Regions from separate parts of the Homo sapiens genome. Here regions 2, 3, 4 and 5 are each linked to region 1. The links are contacts of gene promoters, found by promoter capture Hi-C in blood cells and fetal thymus (Javierre and others, 2016). All regions are on one chromosome and are shown on one strand. The core of a region is centred on a gene start or on the middle of the fragment in contact, and the rest is flanking DNA. Distances in the headings are between cores, read along the strand shown. Region 1 holds the start of ADCY7 (adenylate cyclase 7). Region 2 overlaps CYLD (CYLD lysine 63 deubiquitinase). Region 3 overlaps NKD1 (NKD inhibitor of Wnt signaling pathway 1). Region 4 overlaps CYLD (CYLD lysine 63 deubiquitinase). Region 5 has its middle 17 kb from the start of SNX20.

What was found. Contacts are between HindIII fragments. The CHiCAGO score rates a contact against its expected background, and 5 or more counts as called.
Region 2: a contact is called between a fragment that was not itself captured here and the fragment with the promoter of ADCY7 in region 1, in 4 of 17 cell types (naive CD4 T cells, non-activated CD4 T cells, total CD4 T cells and 1 more). The highest score is 9.9, in naive CD4 T cells.
Region 3: a fragment that was not itself captured here is called in contact with the fragment with the promoter of ADCY7 in region 1 in 2 of 17 cell types (activated CD4 T cells and naive CD4 T cells); the score reaches 5.5 in activated CD4 T cells.
Region 4: a fragment that was not itself captured here is called in contact with the fragment with the promoter of ADCY7 in region 1 in 1 of 17 cell types (total CD4 T cells); the score reaches 6.9 in total CD4 T cells.
Region 5: a fragment that was not itself captured here is called in contact with the fragment with the promoter of ADCY7 in region 1 in 1 of 17 cell types (naive CD4 T cells); the score reaches 5.3 in naive CD4 T cells.

Annotation. Positions count from the first base shown.
Region 1 is chr16:50,265,213-50,267,912 of GRCh38, forward strand. ADCY7 (adenylate cyclase 7) reads left to right here and starts at 1,339. Exons shown (of 26, transcript NM_001114.5): 1 at 1,339-1,468. RefSeq lists enhancers at 483-1,076, 1,022-1,111. The HindIII fragment of the contact is 14,845 bases long and covers 1,135-2,700 here.
Region 2 is chr16:50,749,820-50,752,519 of GRCh38, forward strand. CYLD (CYLD lysine 63 deubiquitinase) reads left to right here. Exons shown (of 19, transcript NM_001378743.1): 3 at 1-383; 4 at 1,785-2,087. Among named protein-coding and RNA genes, the nearest start is that of CYLD-AS1, 8.4 kb to the left of the region's middle. The HindIII fragment of the contact is 1,396 bases long and covers 662-2,057 here.
Region 3 is chr16:50,640,479-50,643,178 of GRCh38, forward strand. It overlaps NKD1 (NKD inhibitor of Wnt signaling pathway 1), which reads left to right. Exons shown (of 10, transcript NM_033119.5): 10 at 1-2,700. Among named protein-coding and RNA genes, the nearest start is that of NKD1-AS1, 28 kb to the left of the region's middle. The HindIII fragment of the contact is 3,833 bases long and covers 1-2,700 here.
Region 4 is chr16:50,768,497-50,771,196 of GRCh38, forward strand. All of the region lies in intron 5 of CYLD (CYLD lysine 63 deubiquitinase), which reads left to right. Among named protein-coding and RNA genes, the nearest start is that of CYLD-AS1, 27 kb to the left of the region's middle. The HindIII fragment of the contact is 2,515 bases long and covers 1-2,508 here.
Region 5 is chr16:50,663,024-50,665,723 of GRCh38, forward strand. No RefSeq gene overlaps it. Among named protein-coding and RNA genes, the nearest start is that of SNX20, 17 kb to the right of the region's middle. RefSeq lists an enhancer at 2,193-2,694 and a silencer at 2,530-2,619. The HindIII fragment of the contact is 9,909 bases long and covers 1-2,700 here.

The DNA.
Region 1 (2,700 bases), core at 89-2,588:
TGTCTTTCCCCTCTTTTGATGATGATGATGTCTGTTCCTTCTCTGCTCTGGGACATTTGCTAGGGAGACATTTGCTGATAGGAGGGCGACCCTGATGGGGAGGATCCCCTGAGGTCTCCCACTCCCTCCTGTGGCCTCTGGAGCAGCCTGGAACCCTGTGTGAGTCCTATGCCTGTCTCCACCAGATGGCAGACCTTAGATCACCTGCTAGTTCCCTGCATGGGGCCTGGCACAGAGACAGCACCTAACATGTTCAGTTCCTCCTGATCAGTATGTGTGGGATGTCTACTCTGTGACCAGCTGGGGCTGGACGCTGGGGACACAGCTGTTGATATTACAGCTGCCCTCCCATCTCTGCCCTCCTCAAGGATATAACCTAGGAAAGACAGACCAGCAACCAGTGGTCACAGCACAGAGGTGCTGTGATGGAGGAAGGTGCAGGGGTTAGAAGACCAGAAGAGGGGTGTCTGACCCTGGATGTGGGAGGTGGAGGAGGTACACCATTGCTTTGAGGAGCTCGTAATCCCAGGATGCCAGTCACATGCTCAGAAGGGCTCCCTGAGGACCAGGTGCTGCTGTGGCCAGCGGGCTGGAGGCCTCCCCCTCTGTTTTGGGAGTCTCCACTCTCTCCTCTTAGCCTCTCCTGATCTGCTCCCTCGCCACTGAGCGCCCCATGATCCCAGTGGGGAAACTGAGGCCTGGCATAGCAGAAGGGGTGCTGGGGTTTGATTCCCAGCCTCATGGTGCCCAGGGATGTTGGGGGCTCTCCAGGGACTCTGATTTTGGAATAGGAGCCCCAAGGATGGGCCTGCCCCTGCCCTGCTCCCAGCATGGGAGCGTAGGTGAGATGGAGAGGCAGTGGGCTGGGCTGGAAGATCTTTGACCTCTCCTGGGCCCCTCTCAGAGGTGGACGGGGCCACCTTACTACATAGATAGGGAAATTGAGTCCCAGGAAGGCGCGGGGGGCCTGTCTGTGAGCGTCAGAGCCCACAGGAGGCTCAGGCCAGGCCGCTAATTGCTAATTGCTCACTAAGGATGCATTTGCTCCCCACTTTGAACAGTTGTCTTGGGGCTTCTAATGGAGGTTTTTGGTGCTTGTTTTATTATTATTTTTTCAAAATTGTTCCAGCTTCAAGCTTCAAATTTCCATGAAGTCATTGGAGCCCGACAGCTCCCAGGCCTGGCAGCTCCCAGGCTGCGGAGAGCAGCACTGTGGCTGGGGGAGGGGGCCCTGCACACCCCGAGAGGCTGGGCTGTGGGCTGTGCCTTAGCCTTGCTGCCGCCGCCGCCGCTGCTGCCGCTGCCGGAGCAGGAAGTGGTGGGTCCCAGATGTGACTCACTCTCATTAGGTAGCGTGGAAGGAGCCTTCGGATGGGTGAGCCTGGGCGCGTCTGAGGAAGGGCAGGCGGGGGCCGGGCCACCTCCCTGCAGACCCTGGCCGGCTGCTGGGGCCGGGGAGGAGAGCCAGGTAAAAGTGGGGTGTGGGGATGGAGTGTCACCAGTCCTAGTGGCTTGAGCCCCAGGGGACGGGGCTGGACAGTGGGTGGGAAGCAGCTCACCCGGCAGCCTGGCCTGGGAGTGCACTGGGCAGGGTCTGGGCTGGGGGAGTAGGAGGCTCCGTGAGCCTACTGGGCAGATGGCTGGGAGAGGCGGCCCTTCAACAGGGGACCAGAGGCGACTTGTCACTGGCTTTTCCCAGCCTGACAAGAAAGTGCGGTTGTGACCACAATGTTGTACATGTGGCCCGTTCCATCTGGAATTCTAGGAACCACAGACTCTCAAATGTCCACACTCCTTCTCGAGGGTGTAATTTTACATTTACAAGCACACATGACTTTTCTCAATGAAAGGAAACATTGGCAAGGGAAGGCCAATTCAACTAATTTTATGAAATTATAAAACAAAAAACAAACAAAACCTCTGAAAGGAGTGCATGCCTGAGGGTCAGGAAACCAAGATGCCTCCAAAAAGCAGACTGGTTTCCCTTTCCCTGCAATGCCTCTCCTCTATCCCCCAGGGACCGCATGGGCCATCTGGAGTGGGTCTTTCTGGAGCGGGTCTTTCTGGAGCTTTCTATGCATTCATCTAAACATGTATGTACAGAGGGTGAGGCAGTTGCCTCTTCTCTGTGTCATCACATCAGGGTCAAGGGCAGGGACATCTGTGGCTGGGGGCTTCCTCCCTGGACAGCCATTGCTGGAGAGGAGAAGGGAGGGCCGGGAGGGGGAAGCCAAGGGCCTGGAGGTAGGGGCCAGGCCGAGCCACCTACGACAGGGGCCCTGGGTCCAAGGCCTGGACGGGCAGCCAGTGTGGGCTGGATGTGTCTGGAAGGGCTATGTGACCGTGGGCCTTCACTAGCATCACCATCTTGCAGATGGAGGCTGTGAGGGGTGGACTCAACACCAGTGTTTCTCGGAGTGAGGACCGGGCTGCCCAGGGAATCACAGGGGGTTCTAGCCTGTGTGTGGAAGGACATGTTTAAAATCTAAGTATTTGTCTTGGGGAAAAAAAAATCTGTAAATAGGACATTGCCATTGTGACATCATGACTGTATTATTGTCTTAGACGAGGCCAAAGGAGACATAAAAGTGACAAGCCAGCCAATTTGAGAGGAAGTGCCAAGTGCCAGCCCTGCAGGAAGTGCAGGAGGCTGAGGGGGCTGCAGCTCAGGAAGGCGTTTGCTGCACAGCCTTCGCTTCC
Region 2 (2,700 bases), core at 110-2,609, 480 kb after region 1:
TACCGAAGGGAAGTATAGGACAGTATATTCAAGATCGTTCTGTGGGGCATTCAAGGATTCCTTCTGCAAAAGGCAAGAAAAATCAGATTGGATTAAAAATTCTAGAGCAACCTCATGCAGTTCTCTTTGTTGATGAAAAGGATGTTGTAGAGATAAATGAAAAGTTCACAGAGTTACTTTTGGCAATTACCAATTGTGAGGAGAGGTTCAGCCTGTTTAAAAACAGAAACAGACTAAGTAAAGGCCTCCAAATAGACGTGGGCTGTCCTGTGAAAGTACAGCTGAGATCTGGGGAAGAAAAATTTCCTGGAGTTGTACGCTTCAGAGGACCCCTGTTAGCAGAGAGGACAGTCTCCGGAATATTCTTTGGAGTTGAATTGCTGGTAAGTTTGATAAACCATTTTAGTAGTGTGTTTGTTTGTGTTCATGTGTGTCTGTGTATTTGTATGCACATACATATTTTTCTCCTTAAATACGAAATAAATTTTCCCAAGAGTCTTCTGTAATTTTTAATATTCATCATCCTTGCTGATGAATCCATGTTGTGGTTGAATCCATAATCCAAAACTTGCTTATAGTTGTCACTGATAATATGTGTGAAAATCACCTTGGCGTTTATTTCTGTTGGAAAGAGACCCAAGAACTCTGTGATATGTTTCCAAGCTTAATATTCATTCTTGAGAACTTAAATGTCAATTATATTTTGACATTCTTGCAAATAGAATTGTATGCCTTCTTTGCTTCTTGATTTAATTTCTTTTGTTTACTTTTTAATGATGAATTGCGAAGATGTAAAGATGATGTCGAAACTTAAAAAACTATGTACTATGGTAGGAACATACAAAGAGATTCACCTGGCTATTGCAGACATATATATTTTAGAAATTTTAACATTGCCTGTATTAAACATGAACGCTACCAGTTGTAAATAGTTACATAAAAAATTGTTAATTACCTTGCGTTATCATCTATAGGTTTCTTAGTTCTTCTTAATGTATGTTATTAAATAACAATTTAGATATAAGATTTTTGAAAAAAAAGTTGCAGAAATTTAAACTTGCTTATAATTGTCCCCGATAATATATGTGAAAATCCTTAGAATTTATTTCTACCGGAAGGAGACCCAAGAATGCTGTGATATGTTTCCAAACTTAATATTCATTCACAAGAACTGAAATGCCAATTACATTTTGACACTCTTGCCAATAGAATTGCATGTCTTCTTTGCTTCTTGATTTAATTTTTTTTAAAAGCAGTGATTGTAAACAATTAGGAATTTGAATCCCAGTTAAGCCATTTACTAGCTGGGTTGCCAGGTTACTTAACAAAGCTACTTAACTTCTCTCATTCTGCATCCTTACCTGTACAATGGTGTTAATAGTACATGACTTGTAGTGTTTTTGTGGTACATTGATGCAGGATTTAAGCACAGTGACTGACAATAAGTGCTTAATGAATGGAGCTAACATTACTGCTATTTTAAAGTAACATTTTCTTTTTATAACCAAATTAATGTTAGAATCACAACGTGGAATTCAGCCTAGCTTTCTCATGATAGAGTTATGAATTGAAATTATCAGATAATATTATTTCAGCATCAGATACAACTTCTTATTTTTTAAAACACTCTAAATCCAACAGAAACTGCTAATAATTGTATTTCTTATTATATGTATCATTTAGAAATTTTCCAGAGTGATTTTCCTGAAATCCCTAGAGTGAACCCCTTTTCCTATGGATCGTCTTTCTATATCTATTTCTTTCCCTTCTCTCTTAAAAACTAGGAAGAAGGTCGTGGTCAAGGTTTCACTGACGGGGTGTACCAAGGGAAACAGCTTTTTCAGTGTGATGAAGATTGTGGCGTGTTTGTTGCATTGGACAAGCTAGAACTCATAGAAGATGATGACACTGCATTGGAAAGTGATTACGCAGGTCCTGGGGACACAATGCAGGTCGAACTTCCTCCTTTGGAAATAAACTCCAGAGTTTCTTTGAAGGTTGGAGAAACAATAGAATCTGGAACAGTTATATTCTGTGATGTTTTGCCAGGAAAAGAAAGCTTAGGATATTTTGTTGGTGTGGACATGGTAAGAAAATTTTGGATTAAATATCTTTGTGATATATATATTAGTTTATATATATATGTATATATATATATAAACATATATATACACACATATATATACACACATATATATGTATAGTTTATATATATATGTATTAGTTTTAGGACCAATTTACTTGCAAATTGAACACTTTGAATATTTAACATGATCTAATTTGGAGTACTTTAAAGAACATGTTCTAATTTATCTTTGGTAAAGGAGCATTGAAATAGAACAGGGGTCTAGATACAGATTACATTTACTTTTTTTTCCCATTTGAATAAACTAGAATAATGTTCTCTATCTTTAAATTTGCCTTATTGTAGCTGACCAGTAGACAAAACAAAACAAGACAAAACACAATTATATTACTTGAAGTCCTATTTTTCTTTATTTTGAAACAGTTTTTTGGGGTACTCCATTTTTTTGTGATATTCTACACAATTTAATGGCTGATCTGATTTTAATAATTAGTATAATAATCATTTATAGAAAATACCTGAGTAGAGGAAAACCACATTGATTTTGAGGAATAGACAATCAGAATATCTCATAGGATTTCATTCATTTTAAAAACCTTTTTTAATTGTGGTAA
Region 3 (2,700 bases), core at 197-2,696, 380 kb after region 1:
GGCTCTATGGGTTGCCTTCCTCCTGGTCTGTAAAGCCCCTGCAGGCAGGGACTTCTTAGATAGCTGCTTCCTTAGGGCATGGCATGTAGTGGGTGGTTAATGAATGGAAGAGAGGGAATGAGTGATCAAGGGAGGGAGGAGGGAGTGGAGTGGAGATTTCTCATCCTTTCCTGTTAATTTATGACATCCTCCTGCCTATGAGTCCTTGACTCTGGAGTTTTACAAAGCAGTCACATTTCAAATAAAAGTCTGGGAAAGCAACACATCATCGCCAACTTTTAATTTTGCTAAATAAGGATATTAGAAAAAGAATAGAAAATTGCAGTCCCTTACTGTTTAAAGAAAAACCAAAAGAAGTTAAAAAGAAAAAAAAAACAACCTCATTATGTTGTCTTTGTTTTTGTTTTGTTTTCTTTCCTTGGAAATCAGTGAAAGTTTGGTCAGCCACACATTGTAGTAGGGCTAGAATTTTTCTTCCCATTTTAGAGACGGGAGACCTGAGACTCCAGGTGGGGGTGTGGAGTCCAAATGGACAGTTCTTCCCAAAGCTGAGCGCAGACCGGCTTGCAGGTCCTTTTTCCAGTCATGGCCTCAGCTGTCTGCAAAGGACTTGGGGGAGGCTGACAGCTCTGATGTCTGGAGAGGGGGCTTCTGCAACCTCCAACACTGGTCAGTAACTCCACAGAGGCCATTGGCGGGGGTGGTCTGCTTGTATCAGCAGGCCTGTCATGGCCAGTTCAATGGTCGGGGCTGAACTATGTCTCTTGGTGCCTGGTAGAGGGGTTGGAGTGGGCCTGAGGCCAACTTGCTCAGAGCCACACTCCCCAGGAAGCTGTGGAGTCTGGAACTCTGCCCTGCCTTCCTGTCCCCTGCCCACTCTAAGCCTCCAGAAGTCAATCCTCTGCTCACCGGGACCGTACCTAGCCTGGCCCATCGATGTGTCATGTTTGACCCATCAAGGGTTTCAAAAATTTTTAATTAATTTCCAAAATCTGAGGGTTTCACCTAAAAACCTGGATGTTTGGCTTTTCTCATAAAAATCAGAAAGTGGGTTTACCCCAGGCTCCTGTTCCCACATGGCTGCAATCCGCCCGCCTCTTCCAATGGTGCACATGCCTTTTTTCCTGCGCCCGGAGCCCCTCTCAGCCTGATTTTGAGGCCTGGCTTTGATGCGATTCAGCTCATGACCCCTGCGCAGCCTCAAGCACCTAAGTTTTGGAGGTCAGTGATGCCACTTAAAAACCTGTTCAGGGCAGAGCGTTAGACAGGAGGATGGCTAAGGGAGCAGCTTCAGGCATGGGAGGACTTTCATGGGGAAGTCTTTGGGGCAGTCCTGGAGACCCTCACAATGTGGCCCCACTCCTCCTTTAGATGGGGCAAGGTGGGCTGGAACCCCCAGCAAAGGGTCCCAGGCTGTGTGAGACCCCGCCCAGCACTCCTTAAACAGCCAAGACAGGTGGAAAGCCCCAACTCAAAAGACTGGCTGGATTGTACCCGGCTCAGTGACTTCCCCTCTTTGAGACTCAGTTTGCTTTTCTGTAAAGTGGACCTAATGAGGCCCGCTTGGCTTCAGCTCCAGGGACTTTGGAGATTTAAGCAAAGCAAGAAATGGGAAAGGAGTTTGTTACATATCAGGCTTCCTGGAGGAATGCCCCCCAGCTCTCTTGGAGGGGGAAGCAAAAAGACTGCTGATCAGGCAGGGGACGGGAACTCCCCGAGTGGCCACATGGGCAGTCTCAGTAGGAGTCTCAGGCCAGGCTCTGTCTGTGGATTCCCACTTCTCTGGGCTGCATCTCACTGTTCAGGCTAGAGTCTGGTCCTTGCCCATCTGCAGGTCCAGGAAGATGTGGCCCCAAATTCTCTGGACCTGATGTCCTAGATCCTGTGCACTTGGCTTCATGGATAGAGTCTGAGAAGGTTGCAGGATCCAGTAGCTGGACCACAGAATGCAGCCTGGGGGTTTGGCTAAGATGAGCAGACTGGCCCATGGTTGAGACTTTGGACCTGAGCTGAGTCCTGGTTCTACTACTTCCTAGATGTGTGACCTGGGACAAGTGACTCACCTCTGTGCCTTGGTGTTTTTCTCTAACATGGGGCTAATTGGGGTAACTACCTTACTGAGCTGTTATGAGTAAATGATCCAGTGGGCGTGAAGCGTTCAGCGCAGAGCCTGGCACGTAATAGGCCCTCGATAAGTAAAACAGCAACAGTAGCTGCAGTTAGGAGAATGTGACCCCAGAAGGCTCATGGGAAAGGAGGTGCAGTCCTGATGGATGAAGGGTACCTGTCCTCCACCCCGGCTGCAGAGCCCCCAGTGAGACAGCTGCTGTGGCATGCTGCCTCTGCTACACACTCAAAAAACACTTGAGGACATGACTTTTCCCTCTCAAGTTTGATGGGATCACTCTGTTCCTTCCAGACCCGACTTGTGGTGTGAACTTGGACAAGCCCCTGCTGTCTCTGGCCTTCAGTACCATATTTGTATTATGAAACTGCCCTTGGCTTGAAGCTAGACTATGGGGGTGGCAGCTCTAAGTCCTACAAACAGTAGGGGTAGTGGTGGGGATGGGCAGCCTGAAAGCCATGCCAGCAGTGCCTTCCTTGGGGAAAGAGGTGGCCTCTGGAGCAATGCTTCGCTACCCTACATCTGGGTCTGTCCTTGCCCAACTCCTAAGCTGCAGGATCGCTGAGGAGTCCACA
Region 4 (2,700 bases), core at 1-2,500, 500 kb after region 1:
GAAAGAATTCTTTCTAGTCAATTGCTTGTAATAGTTGGCTTCTGAAGGATACCTTTGATTGAAAGATGCAGGAATCTTAAACCTGTTATAAAATTGTTTCTCTCTTATATTTCTGTTCTAAATGGTTAAAAACACTGCTAACATATCTAATTTGACATTATGTTCATGTTCTTGAAGTTGTTATGATGAAGCATATCAATTAGCACCACCCCAAAATTATACATTTCGGTTTTTCTAGTTCAACCTGTGTCTTCTGTTCTAGTTGTGGGGGTTGGGAGTATAATGCTGTTTTTTTGACGATCTCTACGATCAAGATAGTGAACATATCCATCACCCCAAAATATGTCCCTTGGGATCCCTCCCTCTGCCTCTTCCTGTCCTCTCAACCCCCTACATTCAGACAACCACTGGTCTTCTTTACATCAGTATACACTTGTTCACATTTTTAAGGATTTTACAAAAGTGGAATAACTCAGAATGCATTCTTTTTTGTCTGGCTTATTTCACTCGACATAATTATTTTTTATTCATCCATGTTGTCCTTTTTATTGTTGATATGGTTATATTAGTTTCTATATCCATTCACTTGTTGATGGACACTTGAGTTTTTTTCAGTTTTTGGCTATTATGAATAATGCTGCTATGAAAATTTGTGTACGAATCTTTGTATGGACATATGCCTTCATTTCACTTGGGTACTTACCTAGATGTGGAATGGCTGGTAATATCATAGGTGACTGTTAACTTAAATAAAACCCCCAAACCTTCCAAGCTGTGTTTCCAAAGTGGTTGCATTATTTTACATTCCCAGAAGCAGTATATGAGAGATACAGTTCTTCCATATCTTTGCCAACACTTGGTATGATCAGTTTTTTAAATTTTAGTAACATCTAATTGTGGTTTTACTCTGCGCTTCATTGGTGACCAGTGATATCAAACATCTTTCCATGTGCATATTTGTCATCTGTATATCTTCTTTGGTTTAGTATCTGTGAAAGTCTTTGGCCGATTATTAATTGTTTCTTTATGATTGGGTTTTGAGAGTTATTTATAAATTTTGAATACAAACCCTTTTGCAGATATATGCTTTACAGCATTTCAGATTATTATAGATTCACATGCAGAGAGAGGGACCCTGTGTGCCCTTTAGCCAATTTTTCCCAGCGGTAACATTAACATGTTGTAAAACAAGACGTGTGCAACATCACAACCAGAATGTTGACCCTGATACAATCAAGAAGCAGAACATTCCCATCCCACAAAGATCTCTTATCTTGCCCTTTTACTGCCGCACAAATTCCCTCTTCCTCCTGCCCCATCCTTAACCTCTGACAACCACTCATCTGCTGTCGATTTCTGTAATTCAGTCATTTCAAGAATGTTACATAAATGGAGTTGTACAGTATGTAACCTTTTGAGACTGGCTCTTTTTTCACTGAGCATAATTCTCTGGAGATTTATCTACATTATTTTATATATATCCATGGATTGTTCCTGTTTATTCCTGAGTAATATTCCATATTATGGATGTATCAGTTTGTTTAACTGTTTAGCTGTTGAAGGACATCTGGTTTGTTTCCAGTTTTTGGCTATTATGAATAATGCTTTTATAAATATTTGTGTGTAGTTTCCTGAGTGCACATAAATCTTTATTTCTTGACATAATTGTCCAAGTGCGTATTCGGTGATATTTGCAAATTTAGTTTCTTAAGAAACCGCTAAACTGTTTTCCAGAGTGACTGTACTCTTACTTTACCACTGGCAATATATGGGTAATCTGGTTTCTCTGTATCCTTTCCAGCATTTGATGTTGTCCCTATTTTTAATTTTAGCCATTCAGAGAGATTTGTAGTTGTATTTCACTGTGATTTTGATTTGAATTTACCTGATGGCTGCTGATGTTGAACATCGTTCCGTGTACTCACTGTCATCTGTATATATTCTTTTTCTTTCTTTCTTTTTTTTTTTTTTGAGATGGAGTCTTGCTCTGTTCACCCAGGCTGGAGTATAGTGGCGTGATCTCGGCTCACTGTAACCTCCACCTCCTGGGTTCAAGTGATTCTCCTGCCTCAGCCTCCCAAGTAGCTGGGATTACAGGTGTGCGCCCCCGAGCCCAGCTAATTTTTGTGTTCTTAGTAGAGAGAGGGTTTCACCATGTTGGCCAGGCTGGTCTCGAACTCCTGACCTCAAGTGATCCACCTGCCTCGGCTTCCCAAAGTGCTGGGATTACAGGCATGAGCCCCTGCACCCAGCCTTCGTATATATTCTTGAGTGAAAGGTGTCCTCATCTCTTTTGCCCAGGTTCTCATTGGATCCTGTGCTTTTTTACTGTTGAGTTTTGAGAAGTCTTTATGTATTCTAGATACTAATTCTTTGTTCAATATATGGTTTGCACATTTTATTTCCCAATGTGTAGCTTGTCTTTTCATCCTCTTAATAGGGTCTTTCACAGAGTACAAGATTTTTATTTTTATGAAGTCCAATTTATAGTTTTTCTTGTGTGGGTCAAGCTTTTGTGTCAAGTTCGACAACTTTTGTTTAGCTCTACATATGGAAGATTTTCTCCTAAGTTTTTAAAAATTGAAATGTAATATGTTGTGCAACCCTCACCACTATCCAGTTCCAGAACATTTTCATGGGAACCCAGTACCCATTAAGCAGTTACTTCCCATTGTCTCTTACCCTGAGACCCTGACAACC
Region 5 (2,700 bases), core at 85-2,584, 400 kb after region 1:
CTCGCCTCAGGCTCAAACTCTAGCTCTGTCTGACTGCTATCATACTTGGTGCCTAATAAATATTGACTTTATATTTGCTGCCCCAATTTATTCTTTTATTAACATATTTATATTTTTAAATTTTAACATTTTGTTTTTGTTTTCTGTTGTTTTTTGGTTTGTTTTTTGTTTTTTTGAGACAGAATCTCACTCTGTTGCCCAGGCTGCAGGGCCTTGGCACGATCTCGACTCACTGCAACCTCTGCCTCCTGAGTTCAAGAAATTCTCCTGCTTCAGCCTCTCAGGTAGCTGGGATTACAGGCTCCCACCACTACACCCAGCTAATTTTTGTATTTTTAGTAGAGGCAGGGTTTCACCATGTTGGCCTGGCTGGTCTCAAACTCCTGACTTTAGGTGATCCGTCCGCCTCGGCCTCCCAAAGTGCTGGGATTACAGGCATGAGCCTCCGCACTCGGCCAATTTTAACATTTTTAAATTTTAATTTCTTTTTGTAGAGACAGGGTCTCACTATGTTGGCCAGGCTGGTCTCAAACTCCTGGCCTCAAGTGATCCTCTCACCTCAGCCACCCAAAGTGCCGGGATTACAGGTGTGAGTTGCTGCACCCAGCCTATTAAGATATTCTTATTGTGAAATAGAACACACGGAGAAAAGTGCATAAAAGTGTACAGCTTAACAAATTATTACTAAGCAAATACTTTTACAACCATCACCCTAGAGTAAGAACTGAGACTCCTCACTGTCCCCATCCCAGTCAAAACCTCCTCACCCCCTCGAAGTGATAACCACCATCTCAACTTTTATAGTAACCCTTTCTGCTTTTTTTAATTTCAGGAGTTGTGATGGTTAATTTTATGTCAGCTTAACCGGGCCATGGGATGCCCGGATGTCTGCTTAAACATTATTTCTGGGTATGTCTGCTAGGATAGATTAGCATTGGAGTTGATGCCCTGAGTGTGACAGACGGTCTTCCCCCATGTGAACGGGCATCTTCCAACTCACTGAAGGCCTGTTCGGAACAAAAAAGGCAGAGGACCGTTGGATTTGCCTCCTCTCTGATCGCCAAGCTGGAGCCTGGATCTCCTGCTCTTAGCATTCTTGGTTCCCAGGCCTGCAGACCTGGACTAGAGTCTACACTGTCAGCTCGCTGGCTCTCAGGCCTTCAAACTGCACCACCGGCCTTCCTGGGTCTCCAGCTTGCAGATGGCAGATGCTGGGACTTCTCAGCCGCCATAATTCTAGGAGCTCATCGCTTATACTAAATCTCATTATATGCAAATATATAGACATATACTATATGTCCATATCCATATCTATCTCTGCTCTTGGTTCTTTTTCTCCGGAGAACCCTAGTACAGGAGTTTTGCCATCTAAGCAAGCATGCTTCAGCCCTCTGGTTGAGTCCGACCTGCCCTTGGCCTTCAGGAAATGGAACCACACAGGCTGCATCCGTCTGTGTCTGGCTTCTTTCATGCAGTCTCTTGTGAGGTTCATCCACTTCCTTGTGTCCAAGCATAGCTTGTTTCATAACTGCCTCATGTTCCACATAAGAATACCCCAAGTCCCTTCTCTGTTTTATGGTTCGCAGACACTTGGGTTGTTTCCAGCTGGGGGACAGTATCAGGAGCTGTTCCTGCTGTGCAGTTGTGGTACATGTCTTTTGGTGAGCATGCTTGCCTATCTGTCTATAGGGTATATTCCTAAGGGCGGCATTGCTGGGTACTTACAGGACAGTTTACGTTCAGCTTTGAGGAATGGTGCCAAATGGTTTTCTTAAGTGGTTGTACCATTTATACTCTAACAAGCAGGGAACGTCATTTCTCTTTTCTTTTCCTCCCAGCCTCCTTCCATTTTCCTTTCTTATACTTATTTATCCAACCCACATTACTCACAGTCTCTATAGCCTTGTGTGTCTACTGGTGAATTAAAAGGTCACTAGTGGTGTCCTCTGGGAGTCCTCTTCTCACTCCCCCAGTTCAGTAGGCAGATGGGTGGGGAGTCCCCCACGCCATCTGGGTCCTGAAAAGGTGGGAGATGGGATCTGGGAGGAGCAGGTTATTCAATCTCTCCCCCTGGAAAGCGACGTGGCGCGGGCCTTACTGGGGAAGGGCCTCTCCCCCCAGACCGAGAGAGGCGCAGTTAGGCCCGTTCTCGGAAGCCATGGCCGATCCTGCTCCTGGGGGCGCTGATACTGGCTATTTGCAGCGCCCTCTCTTGTGAAACCCTGCGGATTCCGCTTGCGGGAAGTGGAGGGCGGTGGCCTCCGCCTTTTGGGGCTTCTGGGCTGAGGGAAGAGGATGGAGGGGCAGAAAGGGAGTGAGGTCCCAAACCCCAAGTGGAGGTCGCCCGGGGACCCCCCATCAAAACACTTGCTGGGGAGAGGTTATAGAGGCAGCAAAGCTCTTTCCAGCATGATTTCAAATCCCGTCTAAGGGCTTTCAGAAGCCTGGAGAAAGTTTCGGTTTCCCAGCTGTTTCAGCTTTTTCCGCCCGCACCGCGGCGATGCGTTCGGAGCCGCCGAGGCGGCAGCGCCATCTGCTGTCTACTTTTTAAATTGCAGGATCAGATCCTCTCGGTCTCTCCAGACCTGCCCCGTGGAAAGGGAATAAGATTAAACCAGTAAAAATAGCTTAGATCACCTGAGGTCAGGAATTCGAGACCAGCCTGGCCAACATGGCGAAACCCCGTCTCTACTAAAAAAA